3 separate regions of the Homo sapiens genome follow, and regions 2 and 3 are each linked to region 1. Evidence: promoter capture Hi-C in human tissues and cell types (Jung and others, 2019). All regions are on one chromosome and are shown on one strand. Each heading gives the region's core, a stretch centred on a gene start or on the middle of the fragment in contact. The rest is flanking DNA. Distances are from core to core; before and after follow the strand shown. Region 1 holds the start of OR2M3 (olfactory receptor family 2 subfamily M member 3). Region 2 holds the start of OR2T33 (olfactory receptor family 2 subfamily T member 33). Region 3 has its middle 13 kb from the start of OR2M5.

Evidence for each region. The method cuts DNA at HindIII sites, captures the fragments that hold promoters and counts their contacts. A contact is called where the count stands out against the background at its distance.
Region 2: a fragment that was not itself captured here is called in contact with the fragment with the promoter of OR2M3 in region 1 in 2 of the 25 tissues and cell types used here (adrenal gland and liver).
Region 3: a fragment that was not itself captured here is called in contact with the fragment with the promoter of OR2M3 in region 1 in 3 of the 25 tissues and cell types used here (neural progenitor cells, pancreas and small bowel).

What each region holds. Positions count from the first base shown.
Region 1 is chr1:248,195,283-248,200,015 of GRCh38, forward strand. It overlaps OR2M3 (olfactory receptor family 2 subfamily M member 3), which reads left to right and starts at 1,983. Exons shown (of 2, transcript NM_001004689.2): 1 at 1,983-2,019. The HindIII fragment of the contact is 15,210 bases long and covers 1-4,733 here.
Region 2 is chr1:248,277,974-248,282,706 of GRCh38, forward strand. It overlaps OR2T33 (olfactory receptor family 2 subfamily T member 33), which reads right to left and starts at 3. Exons shown (of 2, transcript NM_001004695.2): 1 at 1-3. The HindIII fragment of the contact is 7,061 bases long and covers 1-4,733 here.
Region 3 is chr1:248,129,739-248,134,471 of GRCh38, forward strand. No RefSeq gene overlaps it. Among named protein-coding and RNA genes, the nearest start is that of OR2M5, 13 kb to the right of the region's middle. The HindIII fragment of the contact is 6,525 bases long and covers 1-4,733 here.

The DNA.
Region 1 (4,733 bases), core at 733-3,232:
AATAGTGAAGGAGGAAGCCATTCTGTATTCCAGGACTTCTTGGGCATTCAGAATAGGCTTATGGTTTTTTAAGAGTTTTATTTATTTTACCAGTCTTTCAAACAAATGTATATTGCTGCACTTTTGTCCCAGTACATCATTGTTTTACCTCTTTCGAAGTACTGGAATTTAGCTGGAAGGATGAAACATTTACTTCTAAAATAAAGAAAGGAGAGTATTTAACCAAAAATGTAGGCTTCTGTTATCTCTAGAGGCAAATAATAAATAACATACATTCAGGTTATGTGCGCACAGACATCTATTAATCTGTAATATTTTATTTATTATTTTGTTTTATTTTTATATGGTATATTTTATATTTGAGATGGGGTCTTGCTCTGTCGCTGAGGCTGGAGTGCAGTGGCGCAATCTCAGCTCACTGCAATCTCCACCTCTCAAGTTCAAGCGATTATCCTGCCTTAGCCTCCTGAGTAGGTGGGACAGGCCTGAGCCACCATGCCCTGCTAATTTTTGTATTTTCAGTTGAGATGGGGTTTCACCATATTGGCCAGGCTGGTCTCGAACTCCTGGCCTCAAGTGATCCACCTGCCTTGGCCTCCCAAAGTGCTGGGATTACAGGCGTGAGCCACTATGCCCAGCCTGTAATATTTTATTTTAAGCTGGTGATGGGTACATTGGTGTTTTATTTGTTTTATACATTGTCATCCACTGAAATATTTCTAAATATACAAATAGCTATCCTTGTAATTCAGGCTATGAACAATTTAAGAAAAACAATAACATTATCTCAGTAAAAACAGGATATCATTCAATACAATTCAGTGAACATTTATTGAAGAAAGCATTGGTAAAAGAAATACAATGGGATTTTGCTAATGTGCTGAATACACCTACCAAAACCTCAAACAAACACTATATGTCATGGTGAACTATATCGCTAAAGGCTTCAGGTACTCAAGAATATTGTTCTTCAACATTTTAAATATATATATTTTAATCAAATGATGCAAGGAAAATAGATAAAATTGGAAAGACATATAAAGTTGTTTCATCCATTGTATGTAATATTTTTCTCTTCACTAAGGAATACAAAAAAATTACCATTCTTGGATTCAAGGTCTATAAGCAACAATTAACAGATTTCTATATATTAACAAAAACAAATAGAAGATGTAATAGAAACAATAATCCATACACTAGAGCAACGAAATATAAAATACCTATAAACATTTCAATTTTATAATGACTTTGACAGAAAATATATACAGGCGTTTTAAGGGATAGAAAACATACTAAAGAACATACAAATAGAATTAGAATTATGTAGGGAACTTTAAGATGTTAAAAATGCCAATTCTACCCAAACATATCTTGCTTTGATGATGGAGCAGAAGGAAGAGTGAAGAGAAACCATGGAAGAGGAATGATATTAGCCTGGAACACCCTGACTGCCATTCTCTAGCTCTGAGACGTCAATTTACTTCTGCCCTCAGTTTCACATGTAAAACATACGACAATATAATTAAATATATTATATAATAATATATACATGTGTCTAATAGGGGTATCTGGCATACACAATGGTTGTAAGTATTATGTTAATTTACAAACCTTTTTTTTTTAAACATAGTGCCAGTTACACAGAAAGCACTTAGTGTGTTTCACCTCATCATGTGAGAGAGAGGGGGAAGTTTCAGAAAGTTCACCCTAATCTACAAGGAAGGAGGCGTAATTATCTTTGTAGTATTTTCAAGAAAAGGAAGCTAATTCGGCTTCATGTCCTAGGAGAGGAGACAGAAGGAAATACAAACTTTTAAAATTAAAGACAAGGGAATGGATTCCCCAAGGGCTGAAAATTTAAGTTTTTGTCTTTTCATTTATTTTTCAATAACCATAAAGATTCCAACTGTACGTTAGGTGCTTTTTTTTCTTATTATGGAAACATAAAACCTGTAAGATATTTATATATTTTTGCCTTTCCAGGAAACCACAATCTCACTGAAAATATACACTATTCAGGTAAGTACTAAGAGGTAAGTTAACCAAGCGCAAGCATGACTTTGTATAAGCTAGTGCTGAAATTTCTGCTGAACATGGTGATGATTGATCTCATTTCTTAAGTCATTTTTTGTGCTAAGAATTTTATAAACATTATTCTATTTTATCTGTACAATATTACTTTGAGAAATGTGGTACAATCTGAGGCAGAAGGAGTGGTTACTTGCTCCAGCTTATCAGTGTGAAAGATTGGATAAAATCCATTACTTTTGTTTTTCCATGTCCTGGTATTCCAGATTTGAAAAAGAAATTGACAGTGAATAGATGTCAGAGGAGAAGAGTAGCAGATGAGAACCATAAACAATGATTTGAAAATTTTGGCCACGTTCTCTTTTCTTTTAATAATTTTAGCTCATGCAGGATGAGAATTCCTAAACCAAAATCTAATACCCAAAGCACTCCAAAATCAGAACCTTTTCAGTGCTGACATGAGATGGTGACACTTTTGCTTCCTGATGGTTCACAAACTTTCTCCCATACACAAAATTGTTTTAAAATACTGCATAAAATTACCTTCAGGCTATTTGTATAAGGTATACATAGAACATAAATTTTTTCCTTACACTTGGTTCTATTCCAAAAAAATCTCATTATTAGCTATGCAGATATTCCAAAGTGTGAAAAAGAATCTGAAATCTGCAACACGTCTGGTCCCAAGCATTTTGGATAAGGAATCCTCAACCCGTATTAATGAATGCTTTACATTTGTCATGTATTCTTTTAAGACGTTTACACCTATTTTTAAAATATTTTATTAAACTTCAGAGTATAAAATGTTTATTTACAAAAATATGTTAGATATACATTTTGTAAAATGCTTTAAAATATTACCAGTGCCTTTGAAAAACAGTTTAACTCTCTCTGATTATATAACTTTTCAGGCCCATTTTGTAGGTAGTCATTATTCCAGTATTGCTGTGCTTCATAAGTGATTTTTAGATGTGTGTTTAAATTACTCATAATAGGATTCATGAGGGCATTCCTTGTGATCTACTTTGTTCATTCAACATTCTATTTGTGAGACTCATCAATGCTACTTCTTGTAGTTATGCTTATAAATTCCATCGTTAGTGCACATGCAGGTTGCATTTTTATATTACATATAAAGTTGCTATGCTCATTTTTGCTAATATGAGAGATTTGTTGTTTTGTGTTGTTTCCTGATCATTCCTATTACAAAAGGGTAAAGTCAGTTTAGCAACCTCAGTGGATTACACAGTGGATTACACATGCTGTCTGATACATAATGCTTTACAACTTTTTTGATCAAATTCTGGCCACTCAGTGTCTCTTTTCCATCATCTCCCTCAGTGACTTCTCAATTTCTCAACAAGATTTTCATGGTTTCTGTGTTACTATTGCTCTGGCAGGTGTAGAGTATCACAGTGTCATGAAATCTCATCATGATTTTCATAATTTCTGTGTTGGCATTGCTCAGGCATGTGCACAGTATCACAGTGTCATGAAATATGACCATGAATTTCATAACTTCTGTGTTACTATTGCTCTGGGCCTGTGCACAGTACCACAGTGTCATGAAATCTGATGATGATTTTCATGGTTTCTATGTTACTATTGCCCTGGGTATGTGCAAATGTCACAGTGTCATGAAATATGACCATGATTTTCATGACTTCTGTGTTACTATTGCTCTGGGCCTGGGCACAGCACCACAGTGTGATGAAATCTGATGAGTCGTCTTCCTGATGTGATAAGATTCATACATAAAAATAATTTTTAATATTAAATATATGCACCATCTTTTTACAAAACAATGAAGTTTATTACAAAAGAAACATAGTAGATTAGATGAAATAAATAAAAATGGAAGCACAATATTACAATTAAGAAAAAAATACTTGGCAGGCAATGTCTAATCCAGAGTTCAAAATGTTGTACCTCATTATGTGAATACTTTTGATATGCCAGTGGGTATTCTGAAAAAAATAAAATAAACAAGATGTCATAATTTCAGATCCTTTCTGAAAAAGCTGCCTTTTTTATTCCTCTTAATACAGTGCTGCAACTCAAAATATTCTGGTTTTTTTTGACAGTGAATAGTCCTGAGTAACTTGGAGTTGCAAAAAATATTTCGCCACAGGTCCATTTTTATAAGACTACATACAAATACCTCTTTGAATCCCAATTTTATCTTTACTGCATTTTCAGATTGTTTATATCCTGGATAACTTACAATGACTTTCAGAGTTGGATCTCATATTCCTAGTGCCTAAATTAAGCACAATCTGTCATATGTGTCTTACTAACTTAGAAGAAATATTTAATTTCCTCATGAGTAACACATTAGTTCTTTTTATAGAATTTTATTGAATAAATATTCACATGGATCTTAATACTAAAGGTACAGGGCAATGTAATAGTCAATATTTTCAATTTTGTGACTTCTAAATTTTTATAAATTTATGATATACCTTGCCATATTCTCCGTGACAGGGCAAACTCAATGAAGACAATTTTAGCACATGGATATGAAGGAGGTGAAAAATACAACACAAATAATAGTGCATTTATATAAGTTCAGCCTAAACTAATGTAACTGAGAAAATTCAGAGGGATATGTAGATTTACACTTGTTATTCAATTTTGTTTTAATGCTTCATGATTCAGTGGAGTTTAAAACATATGTGGTGGAAATGGATAAATGATGGAGTAGA
Region 2 (4,733 bases), core at 1-2,500, 82 kb after region 1:
AAATCACCTTTGGCAAGGGAATACAGATTTCAGTATTTCCTAAGGGTGAATATATGTAGTGAACTAATTTAGCATCCAAGTTTTGGTAAAAGCAAAACGACTGTGATTGGGAAGATGAACAGATATGTCCCTGGCTAAGGATAGCAAGTGCAATGAATTAGTAAAGACAAAATCCAGAATTCTGATCATTGACAATCCCTGAACTGAATAAATATGACTTAATTACCTGAAATAAGTTTTTAATTTTCTGTAATTGTATCATGATAATAATAATATATTTCATTTATTGAACATTTCTACATGCTAGTGAATATGCTCGGCATTTTACATGCATTTACATGCGTGTTATTTAATCTTTTAATTAGCTGTTTGTTCTGTGAACTTCTACATTAATATAGCAATGTAAACAATGCTAACGGTTTTAAATACCATATTTATATTAACTGTCATGAGGTAGCAGAGTGAAAGAACTTTGATGTTCACATCATAGATTTGTGGTTCTTAAAGGTTGAGGAACATCTGAATCATTCAGAATACTTATGGATTACACTTTGAGAAATACTGCCTTTTATAAAAAAATCTGAAGGGGAATTTCAACTATTTTGAACTGGGTCACAATGCTTTGATAGCCTATAAACTAATCAATTCCCAACTTTGCATGTTTAAATGTTTAAATGTTTTTGTGTTTTGTTTTGAATCTAGCTTCTATTCCTTACCCATTTCATGATTTTTGGATAACATGATCTTCATGTTCCTTTCCTATAAAAGATGCATAATAAAATTGCTTGCTTTGTAGCATTATTGAAAGGAATAAATAAAATACTTGTAAACCACCTGGGAGACTATCTGGCCCATAGTATATTCTCTATCCATGTTCATTGATATCATTATTGTGATTGTTCTGAAAGAAAAAAAAATCCCTCTAAGGCAGAGTAATGTTGATTCTGGTCTAAATATTATAAAAACTTATCTAAAAGAAAATAAGATAAGGACAGGGTAGCCTGTTCTTTTGGTGTTTAATAGTTCTGCCCAAAGACTATTTAGTGCTCTGGGTGAATGCTTCTGTGTTTGATTTGCCATTTACCATAAATTACGGTCCAGAATCTGTGACGTTGTTATGTCAAGCAGACATGTAAAGAATTTCTGTCCGTGCCAAGTAAGACATAAACCAGTTTTATAATAATTGGAAACAAAACAAAAATAGCGAAACTTTTTTTTCTTTTGAAATCAAATTCACAGTGTCTTTTCCAATACTACTTCTCCAACTCTCACACCAACTAAGTGTCTTACTATTTAATTTAGTCCTGACACTTACTGCAGTCTGGAGCATCAGACTCCAGATGTCGCAGAAATCAATCCCACAAGACTGCCTTCCCTTCAGACGTCAGTCTCAAGTAGGGGGTATCCAGGTTACTTCTACCTGATTTGGATACAAAGTTGGAGGTTCTCACAACCACTCTGCTTCAGGTTATATAACTGGCTAGAATGAAGCATGAAAATAAAGAAAATGCTACACTCACTATTATAGTTTATTATAAGGGATACAAATGAAGAGTCAGATGAAGAGGTACATCTGGGAAGTTCCAGAAGAATCCCAAGCCCGCGAGCTCCTGTCTGTGGAGTTGGGGTCTGCAATCCTCTGGGCAAGTAAATGTGTTTGCCAACTCAGAAGCTCCCTGAACCCTTTCATTATGGGTTTTATGGTGGTTTCATTATATAGACATTAATGTGGCTATTGGTAATTGACTCAATCTACAGCCCCCACCTCCCCAGAAGTTGGGTAATGGGGCATGAGATGAAGCGGGGACCCCTCTTAGTGACCTGCAAGTTCCTCCAAGTACAGAGATAAAGGAAAAGCTTAAGTTCCTTCAGGGAAATTCCAGGCACCTAGCTAGTACTGAGAAATAAACAAGCAACTTCATAAGTAAGAAGGTAATAATTGCCTAATGCAATAGCCAAGGAAGTTAAAAATCACAGAATGTTTAGTTCCATTATAAAAACTAAAATAACATCTTTCCATATGTTCATGAGTTGTTTTTCAGAAACCTGGAACCCCACTAAATAGATCTACTGGCACATAGACCTCAGATAAGGAGGAACTGAGGACAGAACTCAGACCACCACTTTTTCTTCTGAATTTCTTCCTGAGAGGCCTGGAGGAAGTCACACCCATGGATGAGAGCTAAAATTCTTTTCTGCTGATTCCAATTTTTTAGACAAAACTTTGCCTCGTTAACCAATCACAAATCAGAAAATGTTTGACTCTACCTAAGATGTGTGGGCCCTGACTTTGAGATGTCCCATATTTTCAGGTTAAGCCCATATATAATGTCAATATACTGATTTATGACTTTGCCTGTAACCTCTGTCTCCCTGCCTTTAAAAACTTACCTGTAAGCCATCCATCAGAGAGTTCAGATCTTAAGCATTAGCTGCCCACTTCTCCTTGCTTGGCCCCCTGTAATAAATTCCTCCTTTTCTTTTGCGGCAATCTGCATGTCGGCATTTGACTTTGCTGTATCAGGCAGGCTGACTTGAGTTTCGTTTGGTAACATCTCTGTGGACTTGGGGTGTGCCACTCTCAGGGTATGTAAATGTGTTTGCTGACACAGAAGCTCCCTGAACCCTTTCGTTTAGTATGTTTTTTAATTTCTAGTTTTTGGGGTATATGTGCAAATTTGTCATACAGGTAAATTGTAGGTCACAGAGGTTTCATGTACAGATTATTTTGTCATGCAGGTAATAAGCATAGTACCCAGTAGGTGGTTTCTCATTGTCTCTCACCTTCCACCCTCAAGTAGGCCCCGGTGTCTGTTGTTCCTGTCTGTGTGTCCATGTGTACTTAATGTTTAGCTCCCACTTATAAGTGAGAACATGCAGTATTTGGTTTGTAGTTCCTTTGTTGCTTTGCTTAGACTAATGGCCTCCACTTCTCCCATGTTGCTGCAAAGGACATAATCTCAGTCTTTTTATGGATGCATAGTATTTCGTGGTGTATATGTACTACATTTTTGTTATCCAGTCTACTATTGATGGGCATGGAGGTGGATTCCATGTCTTCACTACTGTGAATAGTGCTGGAATGAACATACATGTGCAGGTTATTTTACTATAGAACAATGTATACTCCTTTGGGTATACAAGTAATATTGAGATGGGTGGGTCGAATGGTAGTTCAGTTTTAAGTTCTTTGAGAAATCACAAAGCTGCTTTCCACAATGGTTGAACTAATCTACATTCCTACCAAGGGTGTATAAGCGTTCCCTTTTCTCTGCAACCTCACCATCATTTGTTATTTTTAGATTTTTTAATAATATCCATTCTTACTGGTATGAGATGATATCTCATTGCGGTTTTGTTGTGCATTTCTCTAACGATTAGTGATGTTGAGCACTTTTCCATATGCTTATTGGCAACATGAATGTCATCTTTTGAAAAGGGTCTATTCATGTCCTTTGCCCACTTTTTATTGGAGTTGTTTGTTTTCTGTTAATTTGATTAAATTTCTTGTAGATTCTGGATAGTAAATTTTGTTGCATGCATATTTGCAAATATTTTATCCCATTCTGTAGTTTGTGTTTTCTCCTTTAATAATTTCTTTTTTGCTGCAAGGGCTCTTTAATTTAATTAGGTTCCACTTGTTAATTTATGGTTTTTTTTTGTTGCAATCAATTTTGGCATCTTCGTTGTAAAATCTTTGCCAGGTCCTATATCCAGAATGGCATTTCCTAAATTAGTTTTCAGAGTATTTATAGTTTTATGTTTTACATTTAAGTCTTTAGTCCATCTAAAGTTGACTTTTGTATGTGATTTGAGGAAGGGTTCCAGTTACAATCTTCTGCATTTGACTAGACAGTTATCCCAGCACCATTTTTTGAACAGGAAGTCATTTCTCTATTGATTATCTTGGTAGACTTTGGTGAAAATCACATGGCTGTAGGTGTACGGCATTATTTCTGGGCTCTCCATTCTGTTCCATTGGTCTATGTGTCTGTTGTTGTACCAGTAACATGCTGTTTTGATTATTGTAGCCTTGTAGTATAGTTTGAAGTCAGGTAGTGCAATGCCTCCAGCTTTGTTCTTTTGGCTTAGGATTGCTTTGGCTATTTGGGTTGTTTTTTGATTCCATATGAATTTTAAAATTGTTTTCTCTAATTATGTGAGGAATGTCATTGGTAGTTTGACCTAGGAATACTATTGAATCTGTAAATTGCTTTGGGCAGTAGGGCCATTTTAACAATATTGATTTTTTCCTATCCATGAACATGGAAAGTTTTTCCATTTGTGTGTGTCATCTCCAATTTCTTTGATCAGTGTTTTATATCTCTCATTGTAGAGACCTTTCACTACCCTGGTTAGCTGTATTCTTGTCATGGTCCTTGTGAATGGGATTGAGTTCCTGGTTTGACTCTTACCTTAGCTGCTATTGGTGTATGGAAATGCCACTGTTTTTTGTACATTGATTTTGTATGCTGAAACTTTGCTGAAGTTTATCAGATCAGGGATATTTTGGACAAAGGCTATGGGGTTTTCCAGATATAGAATGTTATCATCTATGAAGAGAGATATGTTGACTTCCTCTCTTCCTGTTTAAATGTTTTTCATTTTTTTCTCTTGCCTAATTGCTCTGGTTAGGACTTCCAGAATTATGTTGAATAAATGTGATGAGAAAGGGTATCCTTGTCTTGTTTAAGTTTTCAAAGAGAATGCTTCCAGGTTTTGACTATCCAGTA
Region 3 (4,733 bases), core at 795-3,294, 65 kb before region 1:
AGAACTGGATGGAAAATGAGATGGATGAATTGACGAAGTAGTCTTCAGAAGGTGGGTAATAACAAACTCCGTTGAGCTAAAGGAGCATGTTCTAACCCAAAGTAAAGAAGCTAAGAACCTGGATAAAAAGTTACTGTAGCTGCTTACTAAAATAACCAGTTTAGAGAGGAACAAAAATGACAAGATGGAGCTGAAAAACACAGCATGAGAACTTCCTGAAGCACACACAGGTATCAATAGCTGAATTGATCAAACAGAAGAAAGGACATCAGAGAATGAAGATCAACTTACTGAAATAAGGCATGTAGACAAGATTAGATATCAAGCAGACAAAAGGATATCAGAGTTTGAAGGCCATCCTGCTGACATAAAGCATGCAGACAAGATTAGAGAAAAAAGAATAAAAAGAAGCAAACAAAACCTGTGAGAAATATGGGATAATGCATAAACACAAGACATTCAGAATGGCACCAAGTTGGAAAACACACTTCAGGATATCATCCGGGAGAACTTACCCCAACCTAGAAAGACAGGCCAACATTCAAATTCAGGAAATGCAGACAACACCACTGAGATATTTCATGAGTAGATCAACCCCAAGATGCATAATCAACAGATTCTCCAAGGTTGAAATGAAGGAAAAACTATTAAGGGCAGCCAGAGAGAAAGTTCAGGTCACCTACAAAGGGAAGCCCATTAGACTAACAGCAGATATCTCAGCAGAAACCCTACAAGCTAGAAGAGAGTGGGGCAACTATTCAACATACTTAAAGAAAAGAATTTTCAACCCAGAATTTCATACCCAGGCAAACTAAGCTTCATAAGTGAAGGAGAAAGAAAATGCTTTCCACACAAGGAAATGATAAGGAACTTCATCACCACCAGGCCTGCCTTTCAAGAGGTCCCAAAGGAACCACTAAATATGAAAAGGAAAATCTGGTACCAGCCACTGAAGTAACACAGCAAAATATGATGACCAATGATAGTATGAAGAAACTGCATCAACTAGTGTGCAAAATAACCAGCTAGCATCATGATGACGGGATCAAAATCACACATAACAATTTTAGCCTTAAATGTAAATGGGTGAAATCCCCAATTAAAAGACACAGACTGGCAAATTGGATAAAATATGAAGACCCATCAGTGTGCTATATTTAGGAGATCCATCTCATGCGCAAAGACACACAGAGGCTAAAATAAAGCGATAGAGGAGAGTTTACCAAGCAAATGGAAAGCAAAGGAAAGCAGAAGTTGCAATCCTACTCTCTGATAAAGCAGACTTTAAAGCAACAGAGGTCAAAAAAGTAAAACAAGGGCATTAAATGACGGTAAAGGGATCAATTCAACAAGAGAAACTAACTATTCTAAATACAGATGCACCAAATACAGTAGCATCCAGATTCATAAAGCCAGTTATAAGAGACCTACAAGGAAACTTAGACTCCCACACAATAATAGTGGGAGACTTTAACCCCCAACTGTCAATATGAAACAGACCAACAATACAGAAATTTAACACGGATATTCAGGATTTGAACTCTGCTCTGGATCAAGTGGACCTAACAGACGTCTACAGAACTCTCCACCCCAAATCAAAAGAATATACACTATTCTCAGTGCCACGTGGGGCTTATTCTAAAATCAACCATAATTGGAAGTGAAACACTCCTCTGCAAATGCAAAGGAATGGAAATTATAACAAACAAGGGCAACTGTTATAAGTGCCCTTGTCAATGCAATCAAATTAGAACTCAGGATTCAGAAGCTCACTCAAACCGCACAGTTTCATGGATATTGAACAACCCGCCCCTCCTTGACTCCTAGCTAAATAACAAAAGTAATGCAGAAATCAAGAAATTCTTTGTAACCAATGAGAACAAAGAGACAACTTGTCAGAATCACTGGGACATAGCTAAAGTATTGTTAAAAGGGAAATTTATAGCACGAAGTGCCAACATCAGAAAGCTGGAAAGATCTCAAATCAACACCCTGACATCAGAATTAAAAGAACTAGAGAAGAAAGAGCAAACAAATCCAAAAGTTAGCAAAAGACAAGAAATAACTAAGATCAGAGCAGAATTGAAGGAGATAGAGACACAAAAATCCCTTCAAAAAAATCAATGAATCCAGGAGCTAGTTTTTTTGAAAAAAATAACAAAATAGATAGACCACAGGCTAGACTATTGAAGAAAGGAGAGAAGAATCAAATAGACACAATAAAAAATGATAAAGAGGATATCACCAATGGCCCCACAGATATACAAATTACCATCAGAGAATACTATAAACACTTCTATGTAAATAAACTAGAAAACCTAGAAGCAATGGATAAATCCCTGGACACATACATTCTCCCAAGACTAAACCAGGAAGGAGTCAAATCCCTGATTAAACCAATAACAAGTTCTGAAATGGAGGCAGTAATTAATAGCCTACCAACAAAAAAAGCCCAGGACCAGATGTATTCACAGCCAAATTCTACCAGAAGTATAAAGAGAGGTTGGCACTATTTATTCTGAAACTATTCCAAATAATTGAAAATGAGGGGCTCCTCCCTAACTGATTTTATGAGGTCAGCATCATCTTGCTAACACAACATGGCAGAGACAAAACAAAAAAAAGAAAACTTCAAGCCAATATCTCAGATGAACATTGATGTCAAAATCCTCAATAAAATACTAGCAAACTAAATCCAGCAGCACATCAAAAAGCTTATACACCCCAATCGAGCTGGCTTCATCTCTGGGATGCAAGGCTGGTTCAATATATGCAAATCAATAAATGTAACCCATCATATAAACAGAGCCAAAGGCAAAAACCACATGATTCTTTCAATAGATGCAGAAAAGTCCTTTGATAAAATTCAACATTCCTTCATATTAAAAACTCTCAATAAACTAGGTATTGATGAAACATATCTCAAAATTATAAGTGCTATTTGTGACAAAGCCATAGGCAATATTATACTGAATCACAAAAGCTGTAAGCATTCCTGTTGAACACCGGCACAAGACAAGCATGCCCTCTCTCACCATTCCTATTCAATACAGTTTTGGAAGTTCTGGCTAGGGCAATCAGGCAATATATTTTTAAAAAGTATTCAAATAAAAAGAGAGGAAGTCAAATTGCCTTTTTGCAAGTGACATGATTCTATATTTAGACAACTCCATCATCTCAGCCCAAAAACAACTTAAGCTGACAAACAGCTTCAGTAAAATCTTAGGATACAAAATCAATGTGCAAAAATCACAAGCATTCCTATATACCAGCAATAGTCAAGCAGAGAGCCTGATCATGAATTAACTACCATTCTCAATTGCTACAAAGAGAATAAAATACCTAGGAATACAGCTAACAAGGGATGTGAAGGACCTCTCAAGGAGGACTACAAACCACGGCTCAAGGAAATAAGAGCGGACACAAAGAAATGGAAAAACATTCCATTCTTATGGATAGGAAGAATCAATATCATGTAAATGGCCATACTGCCCAAAGTAATTTATAGATTTAATGTTACTCCCTTCAAACTACATTGACATTCTTCACAGAATTAGAAAATACTTCTTTAAATTTTACATGGAATCAAAAAAGAGCCTGTATAGCTAAGAAAATCCTAAACAAAAAGAACAACCTAGAGGCATCATGCTACTTGACTTCAAACTACACTACAAGGCTACGGTAACCAAAACAGCATGGTGCTGGTACCAAAACAGACATATAGGCCAATAGAACAAAAGAGAAAATTCAGAAATAACACCGTATATCTACAGTCATCTAATTTTTGACAAATCTGACAAAAATAAGCAATGGGGAAATTATTCCCTTTTTAATAAATATTGCTGGGAAAACAGGCTAACCATATGCAGAAAACTGAAACTAGATCCCCCTCCTTACACATTATACAAAAATTAAGATAGATTGAAGACTTAAATATAAAACCCAAAAACATAAAATCACTAGAAGAAAACATAAGCAATACCATTCAGGACATAGTCATGGGAAAACACTTCATCACAAAAACACCAAAAGCAATTGCAACAAACCCAAAATTGACAAATCGGATCTAATTAAACTGAAGAGCTTCTGCACAGCCAAATAAACTAGCATCAGAGTGAAGAGGCAACCTACAGAATGGGAGAAAAATTTGCAGTCTACCCATCTCTCACAGTTCTAATATCCAGAATCTATAAGGAATATAAATGTACAAGTCAAAACCAAACAACTTCATCAAAAAGTGGGCAAAGCATATGAACAGACACTTCTCAAAAGAAGACATTTATGCAGGCAACAAACATATGAAAAAGAGCTCATCATCAGTGATTATTAGAGAAATGCAAATCACAACGAGACACCATCTCACGTCAGTCAGAATGGCGATTATTAAAAAGTCAAGAAATGTAATAAAGGAAGGTAACAACCCCATCTTTCAGGTTATAGGAAGAACCATAGGTCTAACTTCTGCTGTCATCTGACCCCACATTATAAAGCCTATTTAAAGTATGAAGTGGGTTATATTGAGTTAGCTATCAAAAAGAGTGAGATTTCATTCTATCTTTGCAAGCAGTTTGGTGAGTTGCCTGTGATGAATATTACATTCTCCTGTAATACTTACTCAATAATTAAATTGTTTTATTTTCTTCTAAATTTATGAAGAGGATTCTTGGGTTTTGAGGAGAGTTTGTTTTTAAGCATATTTCTCTAGCAAAGTACAAAAACTCAAGTTGCACAAG